Linked DNA regions of Homo sapiens: regions 1, 2, 3 and 5 are each linked to region 4. The links are contacts of gene promoters, found by promoter capture Hi-C in blood cells and fetal thymus (Javierre and others, 2016). All regions are on one chromosome and are shown on one strand. The core of a region is centred on a gene start or on the middle of the fragment in contact, and the rest is flanking DNA. Distances in the headings are between cores, read along the strand shown.

Region 1 (4,900 bases), core at 929-3,428, 1.9 Mb before region 4:
TCAGAAACAGAAACCAGGCTTTCCCCTCGTTTTATTTTATTTTATTTTACTTTTGAGATGAAGTCTCACTCTGTTGCCCAGGCTAGAGTGCAGTGGCACAATCTTGGCTCACTGCAACCTCTGCCTCCTGGGTTTAAGCCATTCTCCTACTTCAGCCTTTCGAGTAGCTGGGATTACAAGCACCTGCCACCATGCCTGGCTAAATTATTATTATTTTTGTGTATTTTTAGTAGAGATGGAGTTTTACCGTGTTGGCCAGGCTGGTCTTGAACTCCTGACCTCAAGTGATCTGCCTGACTTGGCTTCCCAAAGTGTTGGGATTACAGGTGTGAGCCACCGCACCCAGCCCCCCATGTTTTAGAAAGCAGAGAAAGACAGACAATATAAGCAGACTAACTTTACATAGTGCCATCATGCATTCACATAGCTCCTCCCGGTTTATAAAATGCTTCTAGTTTGCCTCTTAGCAAACCTGTGAGGTCTGAGTGGGAACAATACTTTCAACATCCAAACTTCCAGTGGCTGCTGGGAGCCAGGTCCTGTGACAAACACTTCATTTGACCCTCACAATACACTTGGAAGGTAGTTATGATTTGTACAGACAAGAAAAATAGAAGCTCAGAGAAATGACATCCCTTCCCAAGATCCTATAGCTTGGTAACAGAGTGATGACGGTGGTGGGGCCAAGTGTTATTTTTTAATAATTTCAGGCGATTTTGCAAAGCCAAGTGATTTGCAGCTTGTCTCTGAAAATCTGCCTTTCTTTAGGAAGCACAGCTGGTTGCAAAGCAGATTTCACAGCAGGTTGAGACGAGTCAGGCAGAGCAACCAAATGTTACTTAAAGGTCTTAGTGAATATGTCCAGATTCCAGAGACCACTGAACCTAATGAAGTCCTTTTTTTTGAGACAGGGTCTCGCTCTGTTGCCCAGGCTGGCGTACAGTGGCACAATCTTGGCTCACTGCAACCTCTGCTTCCTGGGTTCAAGCAATTCTCCTGCCTCAGCCTCTCGAGTAGCTGGGATTACAGGCACCTGCCATCACACCCAGCTAATTTTGTTTTGTTGTTGTATTTTTAGTAGAGACAGGGTTTCACCACGTTGGCCAGGCTGGTCTTGAACTCCTGACCTCAAGTGATCCACACGCCTCGGCCTCCCAAAGTGCTGGGATTACAGATGTGAGCCACCATGCCCGGCCCCAGATTTCTCCTTTTAATATAACCTCTGACCTCAGAATCTAGAAGATTCATCTTAAACCTCTAGATCTTTTGTTTTAGAATATTTCACTGGATTAAGATGATGGAACAGTCACAAAATAATGCTTACCATAAGCATTTTTGGTGAGGGCAAAGAAGAAATGTGAGGACCAGAGAGAAAAGGGAAAGCTCATGATGTCTGCAGTAGCTGGGACATGTGAAGCACGCGAAACACTTATTTAGGAAGGATCTTAGGCTGTTTTGACCTCTACGTCAAGCCTTTTCAAGTCAAACAACATGACTCAACAGGCAAGAGAAGCAAAGACCTAGAGCTATGGGCTGGATCTATTCTTGTTAACTTCACAATGATGGATCACAAAGAAAGAGGGGAGATGTCCCTTCCTGGAGTTAGCTGAATAGCAGGGCAGAGGTTGTGATGGCATGCAGTGGGCAAAAACAGAGCTGTGTTGCACTGACCTTTAGCTTCCCACATGGCAGAGTTGACTCTGAAGTTTATCTGTGTACTGAGATATGAGAAGGAAGGAGCGAAGTCCCTTAACTCATAACCAGGGTGTCATAATCAGCCACAGAAATTCATGTTCGCCCTTTCCCTGGTTATCTGATATTTCAAAAGGCTAATGACACTCAAAGTACAACTTACAGGGCAGTGATTCAAGTTTTTCATGCCAGATCCTCTCTGAAGGCCTTCATGATGGCGAACATCACTGAGCTCCTACCGCGTGGTGGCAACACTACATTTAAGTACTATCGCATTTAATCACACAGCAGCCCTATGGAAGTTTTTATTGCTATTTAGAAGGAGAGGAAAATCTAAGAGAGGCCAAGTAACACAGTTAAGAGAAAGAGTTGCTGCCATCGCTGAGCTGTGGGGTCAGCTTCTTCCTCATGCCCCATGAAGTTCCCATGGTGCAGGGTTCACTACAGGGCCCGGAATGGAGCTGTGAGCCCTTGCTGCATAGCAGACGGCTAAGAAGAAAGAGCTAGGGGGTAGCCTAATTAAACCTCCAAGGTACACAGCTAACAGTTGGCTGAGTCTCAGAGTCAGATTTTGAGCTTAGGTGGTCTTGAGTCTAGAGCCCAAGCACATATCTGTGACTGCGTACCATCCGTTCCAAGACCCCCTAGCAAACTGGTGTGTTTATATATGCGTTTCTTTTCAGAATTTTTACTGGTCTCTCAAAGAAAACTAAGACCCATTGCCCTACAGGAAGCCAGACCCAATACCAGACATGTGGACCGGATGCCAAGGGTCCGGCCCCCTCGAGAAGGGGTCCCTAGCAGCCTGGACATCCTGCCTGCTGCAGAGCCCATTACCAACTCAGAGCCTTGCTTCACTTCACTGGAGGGGCCAATGCTCCACGGGTCCCAGCTGTGCGACCCCCTAGCTCTTTCTTCTTAGCCGTCTGCTATGCGGCAAGGGCTCACAGCTCCATTCTGGGCCCTGTAGTGAACCCTGCACCATGGGAACATCACAGGGTATGAGGAAGAAGCTGACCCCACAGCTCAGCGATGGCAGCAACTCTTTCTCTTAACTGTAGCTGCTGATATCAATTGCTTGGGCATGCATGCTCTTGAGAACACGTGCTTACTCTTCGTGGGAAGAAAGTGTTACCCAAGTGTGAGCACTTGGCTGACAAGAATGTTGTTTGCCCAGATTACAATAAAAAGCTCCCCCAACCCCAGGCACCCCTCCCCTTTCTTGAACCACACACCCAAAGCAAATTGCCTTTCAGCCTTAGATTTGAGCTTTCCAATGGGTGGGGCATGACACATGACACATGGAAGGGCCAGTAGACACTGATCACCCTCAACCCTCGGGATGTGCTCGTGAACAGCCCCATCTCAGCCTTTTTTTTTTTTTTATCCCCCTGAGGTGGAGCCTCGCCCTGTTGCCCAGGCAGGAGTACAGTGGTGTGATCTCAGCTCACCGCAACTTCCGCCTTCCAGGTCCAAGCGATTCTCCCACCTGAGCCTCCCAAGTAGCTGGGATTACAGGTACCTGCCACCACACCGGGCTAATTTTTGTATTTTTAGTAGGGAAGGGGTTTCGCCATGTTGGCCCGGCCAGTCTCAAACTCCTGACCAGGTGATCTGCCCGCCTCGGCCCCTCAAAGTGCTGGGATTATGGGCGTGAGACACCGTGCCCGGCCCCATCTCAGGCTTTAAGTATGCTGAATAAATATTATTCTCAGTGTCATGATGTAGGCAGCTTGTTCCTTTATCAGCAAGAGCTTCCAAAGAGCATTAAAGAATCAGATAGACAGAACTGAGGCCACTGAGAGAGGTGTCAAGTTGAAATTCCCAGAACCTTCAACACCCCATAGGAAACATCGCTATCTCCCAGGGGATTAAAAGGGTGGCTCAGAGTGAAAATTTACTGTTCAATACTATAACCACTAACTACACGTGGCTACTGAGCAGTTGAAATGAGGCAAGTCTAAATTGAGAGGTGTTTAAGTATAAAACACACACCAAATTTTCCAGATGTGGTATAAAGAAAATAACATAAAATCTCAATGTTTAAAATACTGATTATGTGTTGAAATTATAATATTTAGGATACTCTTGATAAGTAATCTTAACTGCTATTTTTACTTTTTTAAATGTGTGTGCTAGAAAATTTTAAATAATATATGTTACTCGTGTTATTTTTTTGGACAGTGCTGATTTAGAAACTAAAGGCCCTGGCCAGGCGTGGTGACTCACGCCAGTAATCACGGCATTTTAGGAGGCCAAGGTTGGCGGGTCACTTGAGGTCGGGAGTTTGAGACCAGCCTGGCCTGAGGCATGAGAATAGCTTGAACCTGGAAGGCAGAGGTTGCAGTGAGCCAAGATCACGCCACTGCACGCCAGCCTGGGTGACAGAGTGAGACTCAGTCTAAAAAAAATAAAAAAGACAAAGAAACCAAAGGCCCTTTGACTTAATGCCTACAGAATATAAGCAAAAGGTAGTGTTGCCCAGTGGCAGCAATGAACATGTTGTAATTGTTCTGGGAGAACTTTTTTCCCCCTAAAAACCAGCCAGAGCTTCATCATCCCATGTAATGCTTGAAAACTATGTATATGCCTGTATATATTAGCAATTATAAATCCAGGCATCTTCAGAAACCTGTCCCAGCAACATCTTTTACCTGTTCCTCTGGTTTCTGCAGCAGCAGCAATTTGTTCCTTAGGGTCAACACAGAATCCATCCAACAGACTTTATGATCTTTTGCCTGGAGCAATAAACCTTTATTATAAAACTGCTACCACTTACTGGCTATTGTTACATGCCAGGCACTATGCTGTGTATTTTACATTTACTACTTCATTTAATCCTTGCAAAAGGTTGTCAGAGTAATTACGAATGAGGAAATTGGGTTCAGATAATACATAACTTGTCCATGCCAGCTTTTCTCATTCCAAAACCTGTGCTTACAGCCATTCTGCGACACTGCCTTCTACAGGAAGGTAGTGGGAGAAGCCGGGGTTCCTGTGCCATAGATAGGAATACCAGTATTCTGGGGGGATGTCAGCACCTCCCTCCTTTTCAAGCCTTTAAGGATATTATCCTCTGCCTTGCAAGCTTTCTTTCCCTGGGCTCACAGCCTGGGGACAGACACACCACGTGCTTGGCTCAAGAGCCTTTACCAGGAGCAGAGAGGAAATGCCAGGAAGTGGGAGGGCTCCTGGTTTCTCCAGACAA
Region 2 (5,072 bases), core at 663-3,162, 1.9 Mb before region 4:
ATTCCTTTATAGAAGGTATGGAAATGGAAGGGCATGTTTAAAGGACAAGACTATTAGCAATAATTCCAAATTTTACAAGAATAACTTTTATAAACCAATCATGCCTAATGCATTAGGGGAACTGCATAGAAGGGTATATCACTAAGCAACAAAAGGAACTTCCTTATATATTTCTCTATAGCTCTTGTATTTTTCAGGTCTTTTTAATGATAGCTAACATTTGAGCTCATAACTATGCGAAAAGTACTTGTATAAGTGCTACCCTTAAGGTGTAGAAGTCCCCAAAATACTTCGGAGGTAGGCACTATTATTTATATTTGATTGAGGGAACTGAAGCACAGAGAGGCAACTTGCCCATAGCTATGCACTGAAAACAGATGGAGCTAGGGCTTAACCCCAAGCAGTCTGACTCCAGATTCTATGCACCAAACCCCTGTACTATTTGCTGCCCCCACTTTGAGCATTTCTCTTAAGTTGTTATAAAAACCAGTAGATTGAAACTTTGTGTTTTTTTTTTTCTTAAGTTTTATAATTGTTTCTTTTTAAAGTAAAGATTAGCTCGGGATGTTCTTTAAAAAATAGTTGGGGTTAATCATAAATTAACCTCTTATGACGGCCGTGATATAGAAATGTATATGTTAGGCCAGGTGTGGTGACTCATGCCTGTAATCCCAGGACTTTGGGAGACCAAGGCAGATGGATCACCTGAGGTCAGGAGTTCAAGATCAGCCTGGCCAACATGGTGAAACCCTATCTCTACTAAAAATACAAAAATTAGCCGGGCATGGTGGTGTGTGCCTGTAATCCCAGCTGCTCCAGAGGCTGAGGCAGGAGAATTGCTTGAACCCGGGAGGCAGAGGTTGCAGTAATCTGAGATCGTGCCACTGCACTACAGCCTAGGTGACAGAGCAAGACTCCATCTCAAAAAAAAAAAAGAAAGAAATATATATGTTAGAAAAAGTCTAAAAAGGAAATTTACAAAGACTACAAGAAGATAGTTCCCTGGAAAAGACAGTGTGATGGTGTGCCAAAAACACCTTTCCTGATCATACACATATAAGTAAACACCCATACCGAGTTCCCCCTGACTCTAGTTAGGAGCTGTCTTTAACCACATTAGTCCCTATTCGGGATCATCAAATTTGGGAAATACCTGTTCCTAGCTTGTTATGAACATTTAAAAATCTTATTTTTTTCCCCTTCAAACTGTGCTTATAATAGATAGCAAAGTGGGGAATAAAAGTCTAACTACAAGCTTATTAATTTGAAGTAATAGGACTTACTGCTTTCAGTAATGTCACTGTCATCCATCAGACTATTTCACCTCAATTTCATTTTCTCCCTCAGGTGTTTCAAGAATAAGGGGTTGGTTCCCTAGAAAATGTGTGGAAAAGTGTCCCTGTGATGCTGAAACAGATCAAGCCCCAGAGGGGGAGAAGAAAAATAGATAGCTGCTGTTAAAACAAAATTATCCTTTAAGTCTGCTTAATTACTTGAAAATTGTACATATTACTAAAGAATTATGCAATGAGCCTACTCTGGTTAAGATGTTCTTTTCCTCAAAGGTGCCCTAGTGCCATGATTTAAATATTTTTATTACCATTTTGAAATGGAGAAGCCATTCTGCATATGCCTTTGAATTCCTGCCCCTCTTTACCACCTCTTCCTCCCCCTCAAAGGAAAAACATTTCATCCAAGTAAGTTAACGGCATTTTCTGTAGGATTTTCTTATGCACTGCACACTCTGGACCTCACCTGCAGATACAGTTCCCCCCTTGCCAGGAGCATCTGCATGTGGTACTTCTCTTTTCCCTCAGTTGATATTTCTTATATGATATTCTAGATACTATAGAACTCAATTTGTCAGATTCAGTATAACCTCAGATTTTGTTACCTGTCTTTTAAAAATGCAGATTTTGTCAAATCAAATAAAGATCAATGGATGTTGGGTATAATCAGTTTTTACTTAAAGCATTTTTCTTTTTGCTGACTAAAAAGGTTCATCTTAGTTCCTTATGGAAAAACTGCTCTGCTGCCCTGTGGACAACTGGCATCTTAAAACGTGGCTTAAGACATGACACACTTGCTTCAAGATATTAACCCTATTAATGGGATATTGCGGTCATAGTGATGGCAGCGGATGGCAGTGGTGGCCTGAGGGGTGTTGAGGGGGAGCCGTGATAGGCAGGAGCCAAGCGTAGCTACAGCTGTCCAGCCGTGGCTGCGGACCCGGGCATCCTTGTGCTCTAGGGGGCCGAGGGGAAATACCCCCCCCACACCCCCCCCCCAACAACTGCTTGGCCTCTTCCTGCTCCTGGCACTCGCTCTGGAGCAAAGGTGAGGCCAAGCCCGGGTGCTGTGAGGACCTGGCCAGGTGTACGTGAGCTCTGAGTGGTGCTGACACCAGCGCCCTGCCGCCTAGGCCCCCTCTGGACTTTGGGCTGCCAGCCACAGAGGATTCCAGCTGGGGAAGCAACACCCCAAGGATCCCGTGGCAGTAGTGTTCTAGACTTTAAACATAGTGATATCAAACTACTCATGTACCCTTGAGTAAAAAGCTGAAGCTTGTGTGAGTGGTAGGATCCAAGCTGGTGGGCTTGGATGCTTAAATTGGGCTTGTCTAAACATAACAGTGGAATCACAGAAGGAAAGAGAAAGCCTATTTCTCTGGACTTCAGAAACCTTTCCAAGGCAGGGAATGTGAAGCTTTGGGGGCCAGGCCTGTAATAGTTGAGGATAAGGGAAGAGCACTTGGGAATTCAGCAGTGAACAGACAGGTAAAATATATGTAAGATGGAGTCATGTTATTGTGAAGCAAGAAGGTAGGACAGTCTTGAGTTGGCATTTGAAGCAGATGAGGGGACAAGTCATGTGCTTTGGGATATTTGCATTTTAGAGACAGCAGCAAGAACAAAAACAGGCTGGACCTGTGTCTGACACGTTTGAGAAACAGGAAGGTAACTAGTGAGGTTCAGCTGTAATGCGTGAGGGGAGAATAGGAAAGGAAGTGAAGGCGAGAAAGTTAAAGTGATAATGGGAGCTAGACTTTAAAAGTTAATTCCTGCCTACCCTTTTGTTTCAGATCCTTAAGAATAGATATTTCTTTGGCTTTTCTGGGCTCAAAATCTAGAAAGACCATCCAAGAACATTCTCTTTAACTCCAGTTGGAGGCCAGAAAAGAATACTATTAATATTCAAGATTATAATTAGAGTACAACAAAGATGGTAAAAGAATGGATATGACTTGTGCTCAGTTGGAGTTTTGGCTCAGCTGGTATTTGTTTTATTCTTTACAGCTATGGGATAAGAAGGTTTGGTCTTCAGAACTTACTTTTCTTCACTAACCTGTTCGCAGACTAGAATCATCTGTGGGTCTTCTTAACAATCTCAGTGCCCAGGCTGTATCCGGCCATTTAAGCCAGAATCCCTGGAGTGGCAACCAGGCATTAGTGGTTTTTTTGTTTTGTTTTTGTTTTTTTTTTTTGAGACAGAGTCTCACACTTTCACCCAGGCTGGAATGCAGTGGTGCGATCTCGGCTCGCTGCAAGCTCCGCCTCTCGGGTTCATGCCATTCTCCTGCCTCAATCTTCTGAGTAGCTGGGACTACAGGTGCCCGCCACCACGCCCAGCTAGTTTTTTGTATTTTTAGTAGAGATGGGGTTTCACCATAGTAGCCAGGATGTTCTCGGTCTCCTGACCTCATGATCCGTCCGCCTCGGCCTCCCAAAGTGCTGGGCATTAGTGTCTTTTTAAACTTCCTAGATAATTCTATTGTGTACCCAAGTTTAAGAACAGATACTGTACTTGATTTTTAAGGGGTCCTTGTTTAAGACTGATTTTCATCATGGTCCATGAGGAAAGAAACACCACAACGTAAGTATCTGTAATAGTTTATTTTAAAGACTTTACATTTACAAGTAGAAACAACATGTGTTATCTGTGGGTAAGGTAGAGCAGGAACTCTAATCCAAGGGTGGGGGAGATCAGTTGGTTCCTTCACAGAAAATAAGCCTGTTGTGTGGGCATCTTGCTTGCCTGTAGATCTTTGTTCCCAGTTCAGGAGGTTTTTATTCAGTGCTTGCTTCATTTACTGGAAAAGTTCACTGGGCCCACCTGTCAACTCCTTCCCCCACAGCTTCCAGCTCAGCAGCAAACTGTAGGGAACAGATTTACTCCCCAGTTCCTACTGTAAATAATGCTTTAAGAACAGCATTCCTTTTGGACAATATGTCATAGACCCAATTTTTAATACTCCCAAGTCAGATATCTAACTAGAGAGTTTAGGAAATGTTTGGTATGATCAAACTTTTCCCTTCAGTACACAATTTAATTTACGCAGAAGAGCATCGGAGACATTTGTCTCATAGATATGATTGACATGAGTGATAGGCTAAAACTAAAATTTTAGTGGTTTGTGGAGTGGCTAGAAAACATGAATTGTAAGCAGTTTTTCAGAATTTAAAAATCTCTTAGTTTGAACAGTAGAAGATGTAAATAAGCATAGAGACTGTTGGCAAGTTATGTTTATCACAAAACAAAGAAGAAGGCACAGAGGGTCCCTTTGACCCTTGAACTTGTGGTTACTAATAGTATTAAGGTTGGAAATCATGAGGAAGGACACAGAACATAAACTGGGATCTTGAAGACAGGCATGTTGATAAAAGTAGCCCTGAAGCCTTAATATTAGCAACATCGAAGATGGGAAAGACAGGATTGATTTATTTGGGAACTAAGTTTACACATTATATGTCTCAATATAAAACAAAAGCTATGGCTTTAGAGTTTAACAGGTTAAAAAAAAATAGGAGGAAAGGCAAAACAAATGTAAGAATAGTTTTTAATCCATTTTCTCACAAGCAGTGCACAGTGGGCCGGCAGGTACTTAAGTACCTTATCCTAATCCTGGATGTGCTCATACAGGCTGTCAATTTGGGTCCGAAAGTATTTGGAAAGCTCTCCTCGCTTTGCTTTCAATGTTGGTGTCAAGAGCCCATTTTCAATGGAAAATGGCTCTGGATGAAGAAAAATGGCTTTGACCTGGAAGATGAACACACACACATCCATGCTCATTA
Region 3 (5,311 bases), core at 280-2,779, 1.9 Mb before region 4:
ATAAACTACATCACAAATGACATGTAAAGTACAGGTTAAGAATGTTGGCTCAGACTAGTTGGGCTCAAGCTCTTCTTGGTCATTTTCTTTGTGACCTGGGGCAGATAACTTAATTCTCTGTGGTTTCTCATCTATAAAATGGCAGTAATGGCATCTCCTTTCTAAGGCTGTCACCATGATTAAAAGAGTTAATGGATATATAAAGTGCTTAGAACCATGGCTGGCACGCAGGTTCATGTATTAACTATTATATTTATCACCTTTAAAGCTGTAGAATTGTTTCTAATCCAAAAGCCTAGGAAAGCCTTCCTTGATAGGAGAAGAATGAAACAAATTACAGTACTTCCACACAATGGAATTCTGGGCAGGTATTTTAAAAAAGAAAGTCGATCTGTAGGTAATGATATGAAAAGAGCTCATGATGTACTGCCAGGGAGAAAGAAAAAAATATTTGGACAGTGTGTACATTATCTTCTCAATTACAATGAATTATATACGCATTTGTGTTTCTGAAAAGACAATCCTCATAGAAAAAGAGAGATGGAGGTCGGGTGCAGTGTCTCACACCTATAATCCCAGTACTTTGGAAGGCTGAGGTGGATATATTGCTTGAGCCCAGGAGTTTGAGACCAGGAGTTTGAGTCTGGGGAACACGGTGAGGACCTGTCTCTACAAAAAATACAAAAATTAGCCTCGCTTGGCGGTGCATGCCGGTAGTCCCCACTACCTGGGAGCCTGAGGTGGGAGGATCGCTTGAGCCAGGGAGGTCAAGGCTGCAGTGAGCTGTAATTGTGCTACTGCGCTCCAGCCAGGGCAACAGAGCAAGACTCTGTCTCAAAAACAAAACAACAAAACAAAACAAAACAAAAAAACAAGAAAAAGACAGATGGAAGAGGAGAAATCATGACTGGATTTCTTGAAAGTCTTGTCTACTCCATCATTCAGCCAAAAGCTATTGAAGGGCTTGGCTGTATATGTTGCATTGTTCCAGGTGCTGGGGATATAGCAGGGAAAACCCTGCCCTCGTGAGATTGCATTATATTGGGGAGTTTGACAACAAGCCTGAGCAATAACTAGGTTACTTAGGACTACGGAACAACAAAAACAACAAGAGTAGGGAAAGAGAACTGGGGGTACAGCAGGGGGATGAGATTTTTGTTTTTTGTTTTTTTTTCTGAGACAGAGTCTTGCTCTGTTGCCCAGGCTGGAATGCAGTGGTGTGATCTCGGCTCACTGCAACCTCTGCCTCCTGGGTTCAAGCGATTCTCATGCCTCAGCCTCCCAAGTAGCTGGGATTACAGGTGTGTGCCTGGCTAATTTTTGTATTTTTAGTAGAGACAGGATTTCGCCATGTTGTCCAGGCTGGTCTTGAGCTCCTGGTCTCAAGTGATCCACCTGCCTCAAGCCTCCCAAAGTGCTGGGATTACAGGCATGAACCACCGCGCCTGGTGGATGAGTTTTAATTAGGGAGGCGTAGCGTAGTCTCAGTGGGAAGGTAACACTTGATGTGTACTGTTTAATCTGAAATATGCACACTTACAAAAAAAAAGAATAAAATGAACAGCTCCATATAATCCCACCTCCAACACAGGCAGCTAATTTAGAAAGTTCTACCACCTTGGTTGGTGGCATTTCATGTGAATGCACCTAAGTGTACACCTCAGCTTTGTTTCTACAAGTGTGGCTCTCCCGCTACCAAAACTACATTTGACACACAGCCTCTTCCAAGCCCTCATGTTGTGTAAAATGCTTCTCAGCCACTGAGTAATCCAGCTGGACAGCAGCTCTGTGGGTGGAAACCTTTTTCATCCATTTCTCTAACCGATAAGAAACCAGAGCAAAGGTGAAGGCTGAGTCACAGGGCCGAGGGGCCCTGAAACTGTGTCTTTCAATATTCATTCCAAGTAGCTAAGAAGGAAGGATGGCCTGAGATCCTGACCTACAGCCTGCTGATAACTTCCCAGCCATTCACCAGTTGCTCAAGCCATTGTCTTATAATAGCCATGGCCCCAGGCAGATGGGAAGGGCCTTATTTTATTTATTTATATATTTATTTTGGGACAGAGTCTCGCTTTGTTGCTCAGGCTGGAATGCAGTGGCGCTATCGCAGCCCCATCCTAACATGCTCAGCTCACTGCAGTGTTAACTTCCCAGGCTTAAGTGATCCTCCCACCTCAGCCTTACAAGTATCTGAGACTACAGGTGTGCACAACCACACTCGGCTTTTGTTTTTTGTTTTTTGTTTTTAAGTTTTTTGTAGAGATGGGGTCTCCCTAAGTTGCCCAGCCTGGGCTTGAACTCCTGGGCTGAAGCGATCCACCTGCCTCAGCCTCCTAAAGTTCTGGGATTACAGGCATGAGCCATGGCACCCAGTGGGGAAGGTCCTTCTTATCATCTCCGCCGAGAGGTGGTGGACAGAGCAGGGAGACAGCATTACCAAAGGGAGCCCTGTTAAAACACCAGGTGGTAGCTAAGTAGTAGTTTCCACACCATGGAAAGATTCAATTCGATTGCTTACGTAATTTTTTAAAAGATAAGTGATAATAACCTCTCATATCTCTCTTCCAAGCCCAATTGCTAGACAGCATCTAACAGTCCCAATGTGTAAGACAGCTGGCAGAGAAAGGGTTAAGAGTCTAGGCTTCAGACAGGTGTCCTGGGCCACAGGCAAGCATACCATAAATAAATCATTAGGGCGTTCGATGCAGCTCCACTGGTAAAATCTTTGCTGCTGAATTGCACAGGAAAAGCTACAGGAGCCAGAGCTCAGAAGAGATAGAAGAGGTGGAGCAGAATAAGCCCTTTCCTCGGGTTTGGGTCCCAGTGAGGCTTCCTGGGACTCATGGATCTGTGTGTCAATAGGCCTCCCAGTGCTGTGAGCACTCATGCACATAGTGACCATCCTCACCTGTGGATTCCACTGCACCTAGCATGGCACCTGAGACACAGTGGGAAGCTGCTGTTACCAAGCCACCTTCACCTTTTACTCACCATTGGCACAATTTGAGAGAAAGGCAACTAGCGAGGAGAGTCTGCTGAAGGAAAGTTTGCAGTGTTCAATCCCACAAGGAACAGAACATGCTTCTATGCACACAGCAGGACAGGGTCGGCGGAGTCTTCCTCAGGAATGCCACAGCCAGGGGCTTCATGCCATGAGAAGGGCAACGCTAAGCAGTCCGACCTAAGTGAGGGCGGGTTCCCTCATAATGTATCCATTTGGGTATTCAAGCACCTACTGTGTGCCAGGCAGTGTGTTTAGCACAGGAAAGCATGCTCAGAACTTCTGGTCCAGTAGAAGATAAAGCCAATTCCCCAGGCAGCCATGATGCTTTTGAGACCAGTGCTCTATGGGATGCACCTCAGCTTTGGCAGCACCTGGTGGGCTGGAGAAGTGTCTGTGTGGCAAGGGATACATTTACTCTCTGCACTTTTAACTTATTTACACATTTACTTTTTATTTTTTTTGAGACGGAGTCAAGCGATTCTTTTGTCTCAGCCTCCTGAGTAGCTGGGACTACAGGCACGTGCCACCACGCCCAGCTAATTTTTGTATTTTTGGTAGAGACTAGGTTTCACCATATTGGCCAGTCTGGTCTCAAACTCCTGACCTCGTGATCCACCCACCTCGACCTCCCAAAGTGCTGGGATTACAGGTGTGAGCCACCGCACCCGGCCTCTTTTTTTTTTTTTTTTTTTGAGACAGTCTCACTCTGTCACCCAGGCTGGAGTGCAGTGGTACGATCTTGGCTCACTGCAACCTCCGCCTCCAGGGCTCAAGCGATTCTCCTGCCTCAGCCTCCCGAGTAGCTGGGATTACAACAAGCATGCATCATCACATCCGGCTAATTTTTGTATTTTTAGTAGAGGGGGTTTCACCATGTTGGCCAGGCTGGTCTCGAACTCTGACTTCAAGTGATCTACCTGCCTTGGCCTCCCAAAGTGCTGGGATTACAAGTGTGAGCCACTGTACCCAGCCTATACGTTTATTTTCAGTAAAGTAAACAAAAACTGTGGACCTGTGTGTTCAGCACTGTGCCATGTGCTGAGGGATGAACACTTGGCCGATATAGTTCCTGCCATCTGGGTACTTATGGGTCTATCTAGTCCTAGAAACTCTTACAGAATGCTTCAGTGTGTGCAGTGAGCTCATGGTTTTGAAGGAGGAAGAGGTCAGTGCAGACTGGAGCACATTAAGACGGCTGTATGGAACACTAGAACCTCAAAGATGTGTGATCCTTGACCCCCTGGCTTTATTGCCAATTGTCTCTTTCCAGGGGCAAGGATGATGATCTGGCCAGACATGATGGCCCATCCCTGTAATCTCTGCACTTTGGGAGGCTGAGGCTGGAGGATCGTTTGAGGCCAGGAGTTTGAGACCAGCCTGAGCAACATAGTGGGACCCCATCTTTACAAAAATAAAAAATTTAGTTGGGCATGCCTGTAGTCCCAGGTACTCAGGAGAATGAGGTAGGAGGATTGTTGAGCCTGGGAGGTTGAGGTTGTAGTGATCCATGATCCCGCCACTGCACTCCAGCCTGGGAGCCTGGATGTGCAGAGTGACAAGAGTGTGACCCTGTCTTAAGAAACAAAACAAAAAAGGATGACAATTCTACCAATCAAGCTGATGTCTAGTAAGATCTCAACTATGATTCCAACCAGTGGGCCTGCCACCAAACCATCTTTCTCAACTGTTGTCTGTGTCTCTCTATCTACTTTCTTCACGGAGAGACCAATCATCTCATTAGGTTGGATGGAGCCAAATGGAAGTGGAGAAGGGGAATGGCCAGATGTGCTAGAGGCACTAAAGTGGGACAAGTGGGACATTTAGGGGAGGGAAATGGTGAAGAGGTATTTCTGCTGGAGGTGGAGGGTCCATCTTTAGTTAAAAGGTTGGGGGGCGGGGGGTGGCAGGGGGAAGAAAAAGTCTCCAAGGATGAATGAGATGGTGTGTGGGGCCCAGTGTAGACACTGCACCTCTGGAGCCATTGCCTTCACATACTCCAGAGAGCCTGGGTGGGGCCAGACATTGGCCAGTTGAGCTGAGTAGCATTTATCAGGAGATCTCATGTTAAGTCAAATACCAAGAGCCTCTTAAGTCAGTCCATTAAGATAGCATAGGATAGTTGAGTCACCCACAGGATGTGACCCCAGAAGTGACAAATCCCACAGGAGCTCAGGTCGATAGAGTCAACCTTGATCCACCACTGGGCTTCAAGTGAGTCACAGTCCAAATCCCGACCCCGGGACAACTTGTGTCAGTAACACCCCCAAAGGGCATCCCAGGCCTGCTGCTGACCAAGTATATTATGAC
Region 4 (5,257 bases), core at 474-2,973:
GGGGAACTGTCTCCAGAATCTTCCTGGCCCGGACTGTGTGAAACTCAAGTTGCATGGCTTTAAAACAGGCTCCTAACTCGGCGCCGGCTCTCTGCACCGAGCTCTGATCCCCAACACTGTTACATCCCAAGGTGTCCGCGCCAGGGCTGGCACGGCCTTGGGGCCCTGCTGGGGCTAAACCCTCATCTCTACATGTGGGTCAGGTCTCCCCGGGTGTCATTTGAGGTTACAAAGGACTCAAACACAAAGCAGGAGCAGTCATAGGAAGTAACCCAGAAAAAACCAATGCTTTGGATTTTGAGAGTCAATCACCCACCCACCACCAGAAGCCAAAGTTATCTTCCCGGCAGGTGAAATGGGCAGGCCTGTGGCGGTAGCTCCGGGAGGTGTCAAATCAAAGGCCGCAGAATCTCCATACCACCCTGCCCCCGCGCACCTCTATTTCGTGGCTGGCTGGCTGTAGGCTCAGCTCAGGATGGGTCCCAGGGATAATCCTGGGGCGGAGGAAGGAGGAGGTGAAAAGGGTGGAAAGGATGTGAGCTCCAAACTGAGCTAGAGAAAAGACCTAGGAGGGGAGAAGAGGCCGGAGGGAAACAATAAAAAGCAATAAAATGAAATGGAAAGGGAAGGGACTCGCCAGGTCAAAAAGGCAAGGGGGTCGGTGAAGACCACAGCTGGCTAGGCGGGAGGAAGGGGGGCACCACGGCGCCACACCAAGGGAGAGTGGATCGCGACCTGCTGATCCCGCCAGATCAGTCTATCAGGAAGGCCCCGAGCCCTGACCCCAGCGACAGCGGCGAAGCTCGCGTCTGGAAAGGGGGCTCGTGCCCGGCACGAGCCGACGGCCCCCAAACTGCTAAACAGCAGCAGCCCCCGCAGCATAACCAACTCCACCCAGACCACCGGGCAGACCCGCTGCCGGGCGCTTTCGAGGAACGCGGGTGGGGAAGAGGGGGAGCTCTGAGTGCTGACATTTGCAGTGCCCTCCCAAGCGCACAACAAGCCACAGGGTGCAGACTCCTGCAGGTGGTGACTCTCCCGGTCCCAGGGTGTAGGAGGGCGCCCCGGCGCAGGGAGGGGACCCGGGGGCGCCGGAGGGGCGAGCGTGGCAGGGACCCCGAGCGCTCACCTTTGAGGAAGTAGACCCGCGGGCCGGCGGGTAGGCAAGCGAGTAGCGAGGTGAGGACGACACGCGCGGCGCTCTCCTCTCGCAGCTTCTGCCAGTGGCGGCTGCCCTGGTCCAGCACCACCACGGCCGCGACGCCGCCGCCGCCCTCCTGCAGGAGCCGCGCGCGCGCCGCCTCGTCGGGCAGCACGTAGCGCGCCGACACCGCGCCGCCCCGGGCCCGCCGCAGCACCACCGAGTTGAGGTTGACGTTGAGCGAGCCGCGCACGTTCGAGGCAGCGAAGGCCAGATAGGGCCGGCAGTCGAGCACCACGCAGCGCGCCGCCGCCTCCTTGCGGAGCATCTTGCGCAGCTGGCGCCCGTCGAGCGACGTGACCTTCATGCCGCCGCCGCCGCCGGCCAGCGGCCCCGCGCCGCGCGCCCCGCGGGTGCCCACGGCCAGGGTGTCCACGGCCAGGGTGTCCGCGGGCGAGGCACGGGAGGGCGACCCGCGGGGCTGCGGCCGCGACGGAGCCCGGCGCCCGAGCGGCGGCGCAACTCCGCGTTCCCGCCCCGCTCGCTCGATAGCCAGCCCGGCCGCTCGCCGCCCTAGAAGCCGGGGATTCCGCCGGCCGCGCAGCGTTTTATGTGAATGAGTGCCGTCCGTGACGCGGCTGCCCATATAAGGCCAAATATGGGTGTTTCCCCGCCCCTCGGGCCGTGGCCACGCCCTGCAGGGGGCGGGGCAGCGGGGGCGAGGGACGCGCGGGGCGGGTGCCGGCGTTAGAGCGAGAGGAAGTGGAAGGCGCCTCTTCGTTCTCTCTTCCGCGCTTCGCTGAGGGACTCACTCGCGCATCACCCGCGGCTGCCGGTCGAGTGTCCCAGGCGCTCCGGGGCCGCGGTGACCCTCGCGGTGCGGACCGAGGAGGAAGCGCCGTGGGGGGCGGGGCGGCGCCGCACGATCCGGCCTTCAGCTTCACGGACGTGGGCTGAGAACCCGCCCGCGCCGCGCTGAGCAGGGCCGAGGGAGCCGGCCAGGGCCCCAGAGGAGTCCGGAACGGATTCCCGTCGCTACCGAGGTCTGCGCGTGTAAGGAGAGGACGTCGGAGATTTGCCTCGAGGGGTGGGGTATAGATGACTGGAGAGGTCAGGCGCGGGTTGGTCATCGCTGAGGCTGGGTGATGGGTGGCCGGATTCGTTATACTGTTTTCTCCACTTTTCTGTATGTTTGATATTTTTCATAATAAAGTTTGTAAAAGTAAAAACGGGGGTTGGGGGTCGGCGGTGAGAATAGCCATTTAATCTTCCTAAATGGATTCTGCCCTCAAAGGATTGACGCTCTTTTCTCTGTCACTCTCCAATAATGATTAGAATAATAAGTTGTATTTTGAGGAGCTGTTTTCTGGTCCCGGGGAGACCCTTGGTGAACTCAGCAGTACCATCAGCATGTATCCCACGATGGAGCTCAGTTCAGCCAACTGTTGTCCAGGTGGCTTCTGGATTTGGGGGATTATCTATGGATCAAGTTTAATCTCAGGCTGTCTGCCCCCACCGGTCCCCAGGGGCTTCAGGCCTCCCACCCCTATTCCTGGGGAAGCAGACACAATTCACCCATTCAGCAAGCATTTATTGAGGGTCAGCCGTGTGCCAGGGCTTTGCTAGCTGCGGGGACACATGGATGGAAACAGGTTTCTGCCCCCAAGCTCACTGCCAACCATTTTATTGTTAGCCTGGCTGGGACTGCTTGATGGAAAACAGTCTGCCCGCACTAGACAAGGGCTTGTTGACAACTGACATAAGGGAATGAGGTTTTCAGAAGGAAGCAGAGATCAAATTTTGAAATCAGATGCAATCAAATCAGACACCAGGACAGCCAGCATTGCCTCTGGGTCACAGATGCATCCACCCAAAGGCGCTGTCCTCGCCTTGCCAGTGGGGTCTTGGTGAAGACGTGATGCGGGGGCCTTCTTTCTTTTTGTGGTTATCTGTGCCAGCCTTCCCTGCAGGCTGCTCTTCCTCTAGCACGTTCTGTTTCTGTTACCGGCTCTTTCCACCCCCGGCATCTCCGCCTAGAGCCACACACATACGCGGAGCACCCACGTGGGCCAGGCTTTGTTTTGGGGCTGGCGGCACCAACGTGAGTAAGACTTATACTCAGCCCCAGCTGCCCCCAGCCCAGAGGGAAGGGGAAGGCCTGTAGTCCGTGGGGAAGAGCGCCCAGTAGGGGTGTGGCAGGGTGGGGCGTGGGCTGGAGAAGGCCTCCCGAGGAGAGGAGAGCTGAGGCCAACTCCGAGGAATGAATTGTAAGCCAGGCTGCGAAGCAGGAGGGGAGATTCCAGGCAGAGGAAACTGCTTGGGGTAAAGAAAACAAAAAACGCAACCCCCCCAGCATGGTGCGTACTGGAGGTATGTGGGAGACTAAGGCCCTTCTGGTATTTATTAGCAGATTAAGCAGGGTCAGGCAACAGAGGGCCTTGTGCTGTTTTGAGTCATTTGGGTCTTAGTCTTTGGCCGGGCAGTCCCCAACGAGGGATCTTACTCAGTGACAAGATCCGGATAGCATTTGGGAACATCGCTGAGGCGGCTCTGTGCGGGATCGGTGCTTTATTTGAGAGTGGTGGTGGGGTCCGGAGTCTGGGGGATGGATGGGAGGATTTCATGGGTAATCTAGACATGAGCTGATATGGACTTGCCAGAACTTGGCAGTGACAGCAGCTATGGGGAGGCCATAGGAATGGGAGCACATTGAGGAAGTGAGATGCTGGGAGGGGTGAGATGGGGAGAGAGAACTGGAGAGGGACACCAAAGATTTTTTTGTTTCCGGATTTTTTTTTTTTAGATAGGTTCTCGGGCCGGGCGCGGTGGCTCACGCCTGTAATCCTAGCACTTTGGGAGGCGGAGGCAGGCGGATCACCTGAGGTCGGGAGTTCGAGACCAGCCTGACCAACATGGAGAAACCCCGTCTCTACTAACAATACAAAAAAATTAGCCGAGCATGGTGGCGCATGCCTATAATCTCAGCTACTTGGGAGGCTGAGGCAGGAGAATCGCTTGAACCTGGGAGGCGGAGGTTGCAGTGAGCCGAGATCGCGCCATTGCACTCCAGCCTGGGCAACAAAAGCGAAACTCGGTCTCAAAAAAAAAAAGCTTGTTCTCACTATGTCGGCCAGGGTGGGCTCAAACTCCTGGCCTCAAGTAATCCTCCCACCTCAGCCTCCTAAAGTGCTGGGATTGAGCCACCACACCCGGTTAGCATTTTTCTTTTCTTTTTCTTTTTTTAGGACAGAGTCTCGCTCTGTCGCCCAGGCGGGAGTGCAGTGGCGTGATCTCGGCTCCCAGGTTCAAGCAATTCTTCTGCCTCAACCTCCTGAGTAGCTGGGATTGCAGGCACACACCACTACGCCCAGCTAATTTTTGTATTTTTAGTAGAGACGGGGTTTCACCATGTTGATCAGGCTGGTCTCGAACTCCTGACCTTGTGCTCCGCCCACCTTGGCCTCCCAAAGTGCTGGGATTACAGGTATGACCCATGAGCCACTACCCCTGGCCAACACCATAGTTTTTAACCTTTAGATAGGGACTCTACAGGAGCAGGTCTGGGGTGAGGGTAGCAGGAAAAGGAGGAGTGGGTGAAGTTTATTCATATTAATAAGCTAGAGTTGGTCACACCAAGGAAGGTGCCCAGAAAGCAGAAGGGTGGCATGGCACCCGGTGTAGGAGGGTCATCTGTCAGCTGGATTGCTTCCTCACATCCCATATCCAACAGATTACTAAGTCCTGGGACCCTGCTTCCCAGAGCTCTCATCTGACTCATCCTGTCTTGTCCCATGGCCAAGGCCAGCTTTGCAGGTATGTGACCTGTGCAGCCAAACGGGGCCCCGTACTTAGAAGGGACCCCCACTTGTTTTAATGCTCTGTTGTTACTAAATTGTTAATAATTTTGTGCAAGAGACCCTGCATTTTCCTTTCCCACTGGACCCCACAAACTCTGTAGGTGGTCCTGCCTATCGCTGTAGTTAAAGGGCCCCATTATCCCCCATCCCCACTGGACCCTACATTAGCATCCTGTATCCCAGTCTCAAAGCCCCCTCCTTGCTCTCTCATCCTCTGCAGTGTGGTCTTAAGCTTACGTCTAAGCACAGAGCCCACCTC
Region 5 (5,435 bases), core at 2,313-4,812, 1.7 Mb before region 4:
ATACTATTTTGTTTGCATACTATGTTTTGTTTGGATACTATTCATAGCTATTTTGTGTGGATACAAAGGATACAATGTTGTATCCTTATATATTCAGGAAGTCTTAGAATACAAATGCTGATTTTTTTTTTTTCTAGTCAGGGAAGCCTAACTGTGTTCATATAAACACATCAAAGTCAGTTTTTACCTTGTGACTCAACATGGTAGAAGTCTGTCAGTTCATGTGATATCCCATTGTGGAGCAAAGTAATGTAGAAATCAGAATTTTGAGTTCTAGTATTTACTCTCTCGATTCCTTGTTAATTTAAATGGTACCTATTTTTTATAGCACATGATTTGGGAATTACACTTTGTGACATGGATGAATCTGCACTGACCCTTGGTACAATAGATGTTTCTTATCTGCCACATTCATCAGAATACAGTGTTGGTCGATGTAAGCACACAAGTGAGGAATGGGTAAGTTTAGGATAAGAGTTAAAAGCACTCAGCCTAAAAATGTTCATTTCAATGATGTTTATGAAGGTGCAAATACTGGCAGCAACATAATATCACATCAAGATTAATAGCTACAGAAACTGGTATGTTTATGAAGCCTAATAAAAAATTTTATGGCATTATATTGGGAAGAAAAAATGGTTAGAAAATTTATGTACACTGATTATGTTAGAAAACAAAATAATCATTTTGCATAGGAAAAAAACCCTAGTAGTAGTTTTGGGTCGGTAAGAAATTTTTTTTTCTTTCTTTCTCTTGGTATGTACTTTCCATGAGTTATACTTGAAAAGCATGAATTTTATAATAGAAGTAAACTTTAAAAAATTAGGAACTTATAGTATGAATTCAATCCAAAAGGCGTACATTTTCTTGGATTGTTTTTCCTATTTCAATATAACATGACGTATTTTAAATATCTTAATTGTCTTTATATAAAAAATGGTGGGGTTTTTTTTTTTGCTTAATTTTGAGAATGTTATATCTGTATAACAGAGATGTGAGCAACTGAGCTCAAAGTTAAGCATTTTTAGAATAGAAGAGCAAGGTTTGACCCTAATTGAATAGTATAGCTATAATTTAAGTTCTGGTCTTTAAGTTCCCTTGATAAGATAAAGGAATGTTATATAAGTTTACCTGTTTTTTATTTAAAGTAAAATTATAAAAACTTGCTCACTATGTAAGGCCTTTATAGTTCTGTAGTGCGACTGTGTGATTTAAAAGGGGGTAAGGTTAATTGTTAGACTAGAGATCCAGGAGTCTGAATTGATTTATCTAGCTGTCAGAAGTCTGTTTGACCTTCTACAATTTAGTTTTTAAATTTTTGAATACTGCCTTCAGTGTGTAGCTATTACTATCCTTGGGTGCTCAGCTTTTGCTTATGTGGTAAGCTTTTATCCAAGTGTTGATCATGGAGGGAGTACTTAAATGAAAATCACCCAGAATATGCCATAAGTTTTTCTTCTGTTCAAAATACTTTAGATTTTGAGATCAAGTAGACAAGTATTCTCTTGCCATTTAGAAACTATATTTTTTTCTTAATATTTGTCAGGGTGAGTGTGGCTTTAGACCCACCATCTTCAGATCTGCAACTTTAAAATGGAAAGAAAGCCTAATGAGTCGGAAAAGGCCATTTGTTGGAAGATGTTGTTACTCCTGCACTCCCCAGAGCTGGGTAAGAACCTTACTGCTTATTGACCCTAATACTCAGCATAAAATATTATTTCCAACTTTGTAGTAGGCAGTCTTATTGGACTAAATTCACTTTCAGAACAGAGACCCATGTTTATGAACCAAATATTTCAAGTAAAGATGTTGACACACTTTTTCTTTCCATTTATTTATTCAGTAAATATTGGTCCCATAATTGATACTAGGTAACATTCTAGTTCTTTTGAGGTTTTAGTAGGATTTTAAGGGGGAGAGTAGATCTTACTTTTGGTTAAGTCTTCAAAGGAGTTAGTGGGAACCTTCATGAACTTTTAGGTGTTGAACTTTAGCACTTAACATTAAAATTCTAGCAAGATAAGAAAGAGATAATGGGACAGAATAAGAAGTTAAAGCTGTGACTTTGCTCTGAGCCTTTGCTAATGGAAGGTGTCTGTTGACTTTGTGATAGTGAAAGATTGTCACTAAAATGTTAGAATGAAGATTTAAGAGAGTGTATATGGGTTTGTTGTTTGTATTTTGGTGAAAAAACACAAGCCATGCAATATCTTTTGCATTACAGTGCAGTCTTTGAGAAGAGCCAAGTGGGTGAGAGGTATATTTTCGGTGGTAGTTGAAGAGAAGGACAAATTAGCACAGGAACAAGAACTTCACGTAGTTGTGTTTGAAGGCAGTAGAATTGCCTTTTAAAAGTCATATCTGGATGTTAAGCTCTCTCTGGGATCCAGTTATTAGGATGAAGAAATTCTGCCGTTTAAGTGCCTGCCATTTATAGAGGTTGCTTGTAACTTGTGTGGCTAGGTAATTGTGCTGTGTGAATTTTCTACTCAAGGTTGGTTTGGCAGAAAGTAGAATTCTGAGTCTGGTATAAAGGGGTTTACTAACATGGGAGAGATTTGTGTGGAACCCAAGCAGTTTATGTTAAATGTTCAGATCTGCTGAAGAATGTCTTGTTATAAATATTGCTTCTTTTAAACCACAACTACCTTGTTGCAAGAATTTGGTAGAATTCAAGAATCACAGAAATTTCTAGCCTAGGAGTAAAGCTAGTTCAGATTAATAGGTCACTTGAAATCAAGATTTAAACAGAATGTCATTTTCTTTTTAGATCTGACATCTAGTCTAATTCTAATTTTGAATACTTAAAACAATAACTACAATGTGTTCTTAAGTCAGAGGGTATAGGAAATAATTTGGTGGTGGTAATGGTTTGGAGTAAAGGGTAAAGGTAGATAGTACAACAGACAATTGATTTTTGCCCTACTATAGTACCTGATGGAGTTGAACTTGATCTTGAATTACTTCCATGACATGATCATTTAAAATAATTTGTTTAAAAATGTTTTTATTGGTAACTGTATAATATTTGCTATCTTTTCTCTGAAATCGTATTTTCCTTTTCTCTAAAGAGATTCCACTTAAGTAGTTTTATATTTGTTGAGGGAACATTGTGCTTTTTCAGCATTTAAGTGTGGAACAGTTACCTTTTTGCCCATATTGATAAAGCTATAGACTATCTTTTCAGCAAAGCTATCTCTGGATTATCTTTCAAGATCACATGTAAAGAGGGTGACCAGTAGACAGACGATTTCTCATTAAATGGACAGTTATTTAGGGGTAATAGAAAGACCATACTCTTTAGATCAAGACATAAGATTGAATCCTAAACCTCTCCCGGTCTTAGTTTCTCACCTAGAAAATGGTGATAACTCTTTTGTGTCAGGGATTTTGGGAGATTTAGTAAGCAACAATAACTGCATGGTACTTAGCGTGGTCTTTGTATTTTGGGAAAACTGAAATCTCTGACATTCTTGTAGCTTCACTTCTTTCAGGGTGGAGATGAGGAGTCAAGCAGCAAGGGGTACTGTTTCCTTTGGTTTTAAGGTGGTTTGTTTGTTTGTTTGTTTTTTGTTTTTGTTTTTGTTTTTTTGAGATGGAGTCTTGCTTTGTCGCCCAGGCTGGAGTACAATGGCATCGTGTTGGCTCACTGCAACCTCCGTCTCTTAGGTTCAAGCAATTCTCCTGCCTCAGCCTCCCAAGTAGCTGGGATTACAGGCACCGACCACCACACCCAGCTAATTTTTATATTTTTGGTAGAGACGGAGTTTCACCATGTTGGCCAGGCTGGTCTCAAACTAATGACCTCAGGTGATCTGCCCGCTTCGGCCTCCCAAAGTGCTGAGATTACGGGTGTGAGCCACTGCGCCTGGCTAGTTTTAAGATTTTAAAGATGAATTTTGAGTTTATGACATTCTTTGAAGGCTAAAAAGTACTTTTCAATAAAACTTTTTTCTTCCCTAAGATTTTTGAGGCAATATCTGTTTTTATGCTTGATATTAAAGTTATCAAGAACTCATAATGAGAGCTCTTCACCGTCAATCTAGTTGTGTATTTATGTCTACATTTACTTTGTTTTATATAGGACAAATTTTTCAACCCCAGTATCCCGTCTTTGGGTTTGCGGAATGTTATTTATATCAATGAAACTCACACAAGGTAAAAAGAAATTTCTTATGTTTTTAATACATCTCAAAAGAAAAACTTCATAATAATCAGTTAACACACTTTAAGCTGAATTGCTTTGCATTACTGAGAGTGAATAGAATATGAGTTTCTGACACAAGAGAGATTATCTGAAAATTGGAAGCAGTATAGCCACAGAGAGAACTATTACTGTTACCACTTGTGTACTTACAGATAATTTCAGGGGAGTGTAGATGTCACTTAGAATGTTCTTTGACTTATATTGATTTGCATATGAAGTATGCCAAAATGTGGGAAATATTTGTCTGAGAAGACCGGTAGGTTTGAATCTCTTATGATTTATTATGACTATTTAATACTTAAAAAAAGTATAAATTATTGAAATCTGCCCAATCTGTAGGGTGTTAAAAGACATTTTCTCTGTTGAGCAAATGTTGTTTGAGTTACTATTTACCCAAGACTTTACTTAGAGTTCTTACAATTTCTAGGCATATGGGGATAGGCTTGTAAGCACCAGTGTGAGAGAAAAAGGTCTTTGTTTTATCTGACTCTAGGCCAGGGGACAGGGAAGGAGGGTCGAAAGGTTGTGTGAATGTCTGTGAGGCAAGAGAATCAGTAGCCAAATGCTAGCAGTCCTTGTAATTCTAAAAATAGATACCTGGAGTAGGCAGGCAGATAGGCTCAGATGAGAAATACTTGAAATTCTATGAAAATTAGTGCAAGAAATCAACTACTTGAAGCCCTTATGATATTACTTCTCATAATTTGATGATGAGATCACATATGAGAATGATAATACTTGGATATATAGTAAACTTTTAAAAATAGAACTTAAGTCTAAGTACATGAGCAGATCATTCCCAGGCTGCTGGTCTCTCTCTCTCTCTCTTTTAAATTTGCATTTAAATTTAAATTTAAAAAAGAGGGGAGAGACTTTGGTCCGTTGAATTTTTTTTGATAAGATGATAAGATCCTAAGAAAAGGGATCTCAGAGTCTTCCTTATGTAAGTAGATATTTTATATATAAAGCCAAGAGGTTTGTTTCTTGCCCTCAATTAGAGACAGTTAAGGAAAATCGCATTTGCTATGATGACGAGGCAGAATGAAACTATTCAGTGAAATAAGCTGCATGTTCAGCTATTTACTTCTTCTGTGTATTCTATGAAGCAAAGCCTAAAACATTTTTACACATTCACATAGAGTCACACACTCTGTCACTGTCACACTCATGCACATGTGCGCACACACACACAATGCTTTCAGTCAGTTGCAAAGGGATTTCATAGAGA

What was found. The method cuts DNA at HindIII sites, captures the fragments that hold promoters and counts their contacts. A CHiCAGO score of 5 or more calls a contact.
Region 1: a contact is called between a fragment that was not itself captured here and the fragment with the promoter of DUSP5 in region 4, in 1 of 17 cell types (total B cells). The highest score is 5.1, in total B cells.
Region 2: a contact is called between a fragment that was not itself captured here and the fragment with the promoter of DUSP5 in region 4, in 1 of 17 cell types (M1 macrophages). The highest score is 5.1, in M1 macrophages.
Region 3: a contact is called between a fragment that was not itself captured here and the fragment with the promoter of DUSP5 in region 4, in 1 of 17 cell types (M1 macrophages). The highest score is 5.1, in M1 macrophages.
Region 5: a fragment that was not itself captured here is called in contact with the fragment with the promoter of DUSP5 in region 4 in 2 of 17 cell types (naive CD8 T cells and non-activated CD4 T cells); the score reaches 6.2 in naive CD8 T cells.

Annotation. Positions count from the first base shown.
Region 1 is chr10:112,362,085-112,366,984 of GRCh38, reverse strand. No RefSeq gene overlaps it. Among named protein-coding and RNA genes, the nearest start is that of ACSL5, 9.6 kb to the left of the region's middle. The HindIII fragment of the contact is 5,209 bases long and covers 1-4,782 here.
Region 2 is chr10:112,427,183-112,432,254 of GRCh38, reverse strand. It overlaps ZDHHC6 (zDHHC palmitoyltransferase 6), which reads left to right. Exons shown (of 11, transcript NM_022494.3): 10 at 1-15; 11 at 1,348-1,955. The coding sequence ends at 1,451. It overlaps ACSL5 (acyl-CoA synthetase long chain family member 5), which reads right to left. Exons shown (of 21, transcript NM_203379.2): 21 at 3,879-5,037. The coding sequence ends at 4,897. Among named protein-coding and RNA genes, the nearest start is that of ZDHHC6, 17 kb to the left of the region's middle. The HindIII fragment of the contact is 1,309 bases long and covers 1,258-2,566 here.
Region 3 is chr10:112,380,051-112,385,361 of GRCh38, reverse strand. The region is part of intron 1 of ACSL5 (acyl-CoA synthetase long chain family member 5); the gene reads right to left. Among named protein-coding and RNA genes, the nearest start is that of ACSL5, 8.6 kb to the right of the region's middle. The HindIII fragment of the contact is 8,019 bases long and covers 1-5,311 here.
Region 4 is chr10:110,494,373-110,499,629 of GRCh38, reverse strand. It overlaps DUSP5 (dual specificity phosphatase 5), which reads right to left and starts at 1,723. Exons shown (of 4, transcript NM_004419.4): 1 at 1,130-1,723. The coding sequence starts at 1,508. It overlaps DUSP5-DT (DUSP5 divergent transcript), which reads left to right and starts at 3,148. Exons shown (of 2, transcript NR_187547.1): 1 at 3,148-3,242. RefSeq lists silencers at 997-1,266, 1,387-1,446, 1,517-1,656, 1,667-2,196 and an enhancer at 2,678-3,201. The HindIII fragment of the contact is 7,811 bases long and covers 1-4,254 here.
Region 5 is chr10:112,176,707-112,182,141 of GRCh38, reverse strand. It overlaps GPAM (glycerol-3-phosphate acyltransferase, mitochondrial), which reads left to right. Exons shown (of 22, transcript NM_001244949.2): 3 at 329-459; 4 at 1,547-1,669; 5 at 4,085-4,158. The coding sequence starts at 358. Among named protein-coding and RNA genes, the nearest start is that of GPAM, 4.3 kb to the left of the region's middle. The HindIII fragment of the contact is 4,349 bases long and covers 1,388-5,435 here.